Linked DNA regions of Homo sapiens: region 1 is linked to region 2. Evidence: promoter capture Hi-C in human tissues and cell types (Jung and others, 2019). All regions are on one chromosome and are shown on one strand. Each heading gives the region's core, a stretch centred on a gene start or on the middle of the fragment in contact. The rest is flanking DNA. Distances are from core to core; before and after follow the strand shown.

Region 1 (3,191 bases), core at 40-2,539, 600 kb after region 2:
GATAAATTAAAGCTTGTAGTTTGAGCTTATTTTTTAGGCTGGCATCTTGAGTAAACTAGAGAAGAGGAAGCAAATACATTATTTCATTTTGCATGCCTTCTTTTATAGGAACCATACCCTGTAGAGTAGCTTCATGTGTTACTCTGAATCTGTCAATGGTATAAGTGTTACATTTCTACCAGGCACTGTATAAATAATAAAGTTTAAAAAATAATTCTCCATCATTACCATCACCACCCTATCAAGCTGCTAGATATTTAACTAAGAAAGGTATGATGTTTACAACTCAGTTTTGAGTGAACCCTGTACTTGTATCTATCTTTAGGCAGTTAAGACACCTAGGTATTATGAATGGATAATGTGTGAACCTTATTTAATTTTTTATTCCCTACAAAACCCCCAAAAAGGTCATGGCTTCCTAGGGGGAAAAAAATTAGTCTTATTCTTCCAGAAGAGAGGGGCAGAAAAAACTTAATAAGCAGATTATGAGACTCCTGAGTGTTTAAGTAGGACCTCAGGGTATGCTTTCTGGTGAGCATCTTCACGCTTGGTGAGACAGAATTTAAATAGTTCTGGCAATGCACCCTCCATTCTACATAATGAGCATATGCCAGAGTGAAGTTGTCATGGGAATGTGAATGAATCCCCTACCTCAACAGATCTCAGTCCCCCAACACCTCCCCACAGTGTTAACATTGCCCCATTTTGTAATTCTAGTGTGCAAAATTATATATTTGTCGTGTAACATCTAAAAGAAAGCTAACTAGTCATGAAGCTTCATAGACAACTAAATGATCTTCAAGGTAACTTTAGCCATACACTTCTGCTTCATACTTGGACTTTAGAAACCCATTCCCAGGTGAGATATGACTGCTCTCCAAAAGCAAGAATGGTCAGTAAATAGCACTTTGAATATGTGCCAAAAATTGTATACACATCACCTCACTAAGTCCTTGCAACAGCCCTGCAATCAGATGACACTGTCCTCGTTTTTCTGAGGCTCAGAGAGGTTAAGGGACTTATCCAGGGCCCCGCAGCACTCAACGGTGGGTCCTGGGTTAGATCCCAGTGCTGTCTGGCTTCAAAGCCAAGAATGTTCTCTCCACTGAGCCAAGACTCTCTTCTGACCATATTTGGATGGAAAACTTGCCAATGCCAAATGGAAAATCAAGTTCTTGAATTATAGCAAAAGAGTTAGAAGCCAAGGTACATCATAATTAGAATGACAGATGGTATTTGAGGACACCAAATGAAATTTGGAGGTGAGAAGACAAAGATGTCTTAAGTTACTTCATCCATAACAGGAAGAAAATGTGCTTTTTCCCACTTGCCAAAAAAATTGGGGTGCTATTAGAAGCTAGATATAGTTTTCAAAGAATTAAACCAGGTAAAGCTCATAGTAACTTGTAAGATAATATTTAAATGGCTGAATCGTTTAATTTCTTTCTTTTACATTAAAAAAAAGTTGGGGAAACAAATTTTAAGGTTTTAATTTGGCTCAAAGTTGTAAGGAACAATCTTAGGAACTGGAATTTAAGCAAAAATACTCCGATTTGCAAGTCAAACATGAAAAAGGAGCAGGGGATACTGGAGTTCCATACATAGCCCTGAGAAGCAAGGGATGTCAGCCCTTCTCTAACACTGACTGTAATCAGGGACTTTACAAAGACTCATAGGTGATACTTCCTCCAATGACTCATCTTCCTACTTCAACGAGATCTCTGAGAGCTCTACAAGTGTAATCACATGAACAATTTGGCCATCTAGTGACCGGCCCACCCAGCTATGCATTTGCCACACATAATGGAGGGTGTGTTGGTCTGCTAGACCTTGTCATGCACCGCTTAACCCACCAGCACCTTAGGACAGTGGTGTTACCTGTTGTCCAAGGGCAGCAGCCAGATTTCCACCAGCACTGTCACCAGAAATGCAAATTCTGCCTGGATCAACCATATACTTCTGTAAGACTTCTGGCTTCAGGAAATACTTTGTGGCCCGTACAACATCATGAATTTGCTCAGGAAAATAAACCTTTGGAACTAGCCTGTATCTGTAAAAACAAAAGTTGTATTCATTTAAGGCCTTCTCCAATTTTGGGGGACATTTAAAGTTTAGATGGAAACTGGTTCTTTTAAATCTGGAAATAGATAAGAAATTAATTCAATGGAATTATTGTATGAAAAAGAAAAAATAATAAAATATAAAAATAAACCATTTTCTTGCAAATCAAATACTTAGTTTAAAATGTGATGATTTTGTATTAGTAATAGTACTATTTTTCTTTAAACTATCAGCCACCAAACCAAACCTACTTACCACCAAGAACAACCAAAATAAAACTAACAAGTAAAAGGCGAATGTTCATTACAAAGACATGGATAGCACCGTAATAGATTTTAGAATTTTATTTCTGGAAGTCAGCATTCCATTCATAATGCCTCTGGGTTACGAGGTGACTTGGCAGGATTAACCACTTCATTGATCTCACATTTAATGAGTCCATCATTTACTTCATATAATAAAACTGTACTTCACTGGAGAGGTCCATATTAGCCTGACATTAAACCCAAGAAATGCATTCAATACCTGGAAGACTGTAACTAAAAGGCCGGTTGTTAACTCACAAAAGGGAAGCTAAGTTTTCCAGACGGCCTAGAGCAGGCCCTCGGGGATACTTCTGGGGCTTCTCCAACTGGCCCCACTTCGCAAGATCAGAGTCCTTTGGAATCCTACTCTGTACACCTAGTAGAATTCATATCCCCTTAAGATTCCCAGAAAGCTCTGGTTTTGTCAAATGCCTCACCCATAGTGTTATCTTACACATCTACATTGGCAATCTTGGTTTAGAGTTCCCTCTCACTCTCTACTCCCCTCTTTTGCTTATTAATTCTCACTCATCCTTTAAGCCTTAACTGGAGGGTTTGGCCTCCTCTGGGCAGCCTTCCTTGGTCATATCTCCACTTGCTTTTGGGCTTGAACTGGCTACCATTCCTTGATATTTCTATGTGCCAGGGTACGTCACTCACTGTTCTTATTGGCTCATATGAAAATTATCATATGTTTTTCCTAAAGATTGTGTTCTCTGATATCAGGAACTGTGTTTTATTCATAACTGTGCTTCCAGTATCTGCCAATGTGAGGGGCACATAATCATCCATCCAATAAATCTTTTTTGAGTATTAACATACCTT
Region 2 (2,890 bases), core at 144-2,643:
AAGGCATGGCACCTGAGGAAGCCAAAGAGTCTGGAGCCAGAGAAGGCATTTGGACTCAAATGGGATCTATTGGATTGTACCCTATTGGCACTAAGGAACTACTGCCTACCCCCCGCCCCGGCTTCTCATGCAGGACTATGACCTAGAATTGGAGTTATGTTATAGAAAGATGGCTTCAAGTTCCCCTTTGAGGAGCTCCACAGTAAATAAGCCATTTAGGAGAGAGGTCCCCATTTCTCTGGACTCACCATTGCCTCCAAAAAAAAAAAAAAAAGGCTAAAATCTCCCCAAAAGAATGGCAAATGAACAAGGGAAGGAAGGAGCTATTTCTTAGTGTTCTTTAGACTTTAACAGAGTATTATGTACTGCTATTATTATTTTTTAGGTTAACAAAAGTAATACATTGTCTCTAGTGACTCCCTGAATGCTCCTTTGTAGCTTAATAGTTGAGGCTGAATGTAGCTATTCAGAATACCTGGACAGCTATGGATGGAAGGGGCTTCTCTAGGCTAACTTTTGCTCTCTTGTCTCCTGAATAATCTGAGGGGTGGCATGGGATGCAGTCTGTTAACCTCTTAGAGCCTGTACAACAGAAATACATTACATTTGACTTAATATGAACTCAACAGTTATTTAATGAGTCCTATTGTGGTCCTTGCACTGTGCTATATTTTACGGATATAAAGATAAAAGTAAGAAACAGTCTTTGTCCCTGAGAAACGCATTGTGAAATAAGGCTGGGTGAGTTGGCTCACGCCTGTAATCTCAACACTTTGGGAGGCCAAGGCGGGAGAATCACTTGAGCGACAGAGTTCCAGACCAGCCTGGGCAACCTATTGAGACCCCCTCTCTTCCAAAAAAGGAAAAAAAAAAAAAAAAAAAAAGGGTGCGGTGGCTCATGCCTGCCCCGTGCCTGCAGTCCCCAAAACAAACAACAACAACAACAAAAAACAAAAAACAAAAAGAAAGAGGAAAGAGAGATTTTAACTTAAGTATAATAAAAATTGCTCATACTATGTTAGTTGTATGAATAAAATGCTGTGGGAAATGTGGGAGTAATATAGCTCACAAGGTTGCTGTGGGGGTTAACAACAACAAAAAGCGAAATATATGTGTAAATGAAAAAAAGTCAGTTTTAGGCTTAATTATCACTGAGTAAACATTGCCTTTATATTACTTTGGCGATCTGCAGAACGCGCAGCCCTCGCCATTCAGGAGTTGTTAGTTCCCTAAGCCTCAGGTTTCTTTAGTCTGGCTGAACCAAAAGGAGTTTCTGCTTAGCTAGGCAGGGCCGGGGGACAACAGCTTCTGCGAGTCTGCGATTGTGGCGGCCGGTATATTCGGCGGTTTACGGTAATGGGCGGGCCCCAAATCCCCATGTGGTCCCGACATCATTGACATGGCGGAATCCCCCATCAAACCCTCCTGGTAGTTATTTGAGCGGCGGCGGCGGCGGCTGGAGGAGGAGAGCGGCGGCGGCGGGAGCAGCGAAGGGGGCGGCAGGGATCCTCCAGGCTGCCGGCTGGGAAGGCGTGGGCGACCCGGTGTGTGGCGCGCCCAGAGCCCCGCGTTTCAGCCCTAGGGAAGGTAAGGCGTGCAAGAGCCGGGGACTAGAGGAGACCGGGACCCCGAGCGCGATCGCCGGGTCCCGGTGCACTGGAAAGCCCCGGCCTGACGCCGAGTCCGCCAAAGTGCGTCCCTGTCCCGGGAGCGCCCTGGGCTTCCCGGCAAAAACTTGGCGCCGGAGTGCTGGGGCGCCCCGTGCTCGCCTGGGCACCCCGGGAACACGGGACCCGGGAGGGGGCGGCCCCCGCCTTGCTGGGCTGGGGTCCCCCGCCTGTGCCCCCTGCCTCAGGGTTTGGAGGAGTGAAAGAAACGGGTAGATTCCTCTTAAAAAAAATTGGGCAGTGGCTCGCGGCCTCCCCCCACCCCCAGCCTTCCCAGCAGATTTTGTCCGAGGAATCCGCTCCCCCTCCCGGAATCTCCGCGGCAGGAACGCTGCCCAGGAGGGGGAGGGCGGGCGGCGAGGCCGAGGAATCTTCGACGTGTCACTTTCTGAGGCTGTAGATTTCCATATGGTGGAGGGAAGAGGGCGGGAGTGCGAAGTGGGGCTGGAAGTTGGGGCCGCCTCTCCGCGCCGGCGGGGGCGGTCGGGGGCCTCGAACCCGGGGATGCTCGCGGGGAGGGTCCCGAGCCCGCGCCGGCCTGGCCCCCCCGTCCCCGGCTGGGCCTCTCCGGGACACTCCCCGCCCCGCTGCTGGCCACCTCCGAGCACGCCACGTCCTCCTCCCCGTCCTGCCCCCCGGGCTCCCCCCGGGCTGGGGGCGGTAACCGGCGGCCGCGGCCGGACTTGGCGAGCCGGCGGCTGGAAGCTCGGGCGGGGGAGCGGGGCGCGGCGGGAAGGAGCGGGCGACCCGGTGTGTGGGCCAGCGGAGCTCCGGTCAGTCGGTCACCCCGAGGGGCGCCTCGGCCGGGGATAGGGCGGGCGGGCGGAATCTGCGCCCCGAGGCGGCCAGGAGGGGCCGCGCGGACCGTCTGGTGCCCGCGGCTGGGCTGGGGCCGGCAGGCGTGGGAAGGGCCTGTCACTCTCGGCAGAAAGTGGGGCCTCGGGCTGTGCCCGCGAACTTTCCCAGAGGTCCGGGTCCCGGCGTCCCGTGGGAACCGGAGGACCCGGGCCCGCCGTCTCGGGAGACTGGGCTGCGCCGCCCGGCGGCGCCTTTGGCGGGGAGGCTTCCAGGAGTGCGCGGTCGGAGTTGGAGCTTTTGGAATCTCAGCTCCCACCCTGCCATCCCAGACGAAGGGAAGCAATGGCATTTTATCCAGACAGTGCCGTTTGCAGACTTCCTTAAAAGTTATAACTTTTTGTTTTCTTTTCTCCTCAACCCAGCAT

The links. Contacts are between HindIII fragments. The study calls those that stand out against the background at their distance.
Region 1: a fragment that was not itself captured here is called in contact with the fragment with the promoter of FNDC3B in region 2 in 1 of the 25 tissues and cell types used here (dorsolateral prefrontal cortex).

The regions. Positions count from the first base shown.
Region 1 is chr3:172,634,038-172,637,228 of GRCh38, forward strand. NCEH1 (neutral cholesterol ester hydrolase 1) reads right to left here. Exons shown (of 5, transcript NM_020792.6): 4 at 1,879-2,050; 5 at 1-55. Among named protein-coding and RNA genes, the nearest start is that of LINC02068, 40 kb to the left of the region's middle. The HindIII fragment of the contact is 4,630 bases long and covers 1-3,191 here.
Region 2 is chr3:172,038,185-172,041,074 of GRCh38, forward strand. It overlaps FNDC3B (fibronectin type III domain containing 3B), which reads left to right and starts at 1,394. Exons shown (of 26, transcript NM_022763.4): 1 at 1,394-1,587. RefSeq lists enhancers at 1,214-1,881, 1,882-2,548 and silencers at 1,467-1,646, 1,787-1,886, 2,067-2,316, 2,377-2,746. The HindIII fragment of the contact is 8,271 bases long and covers 1-2,890 here.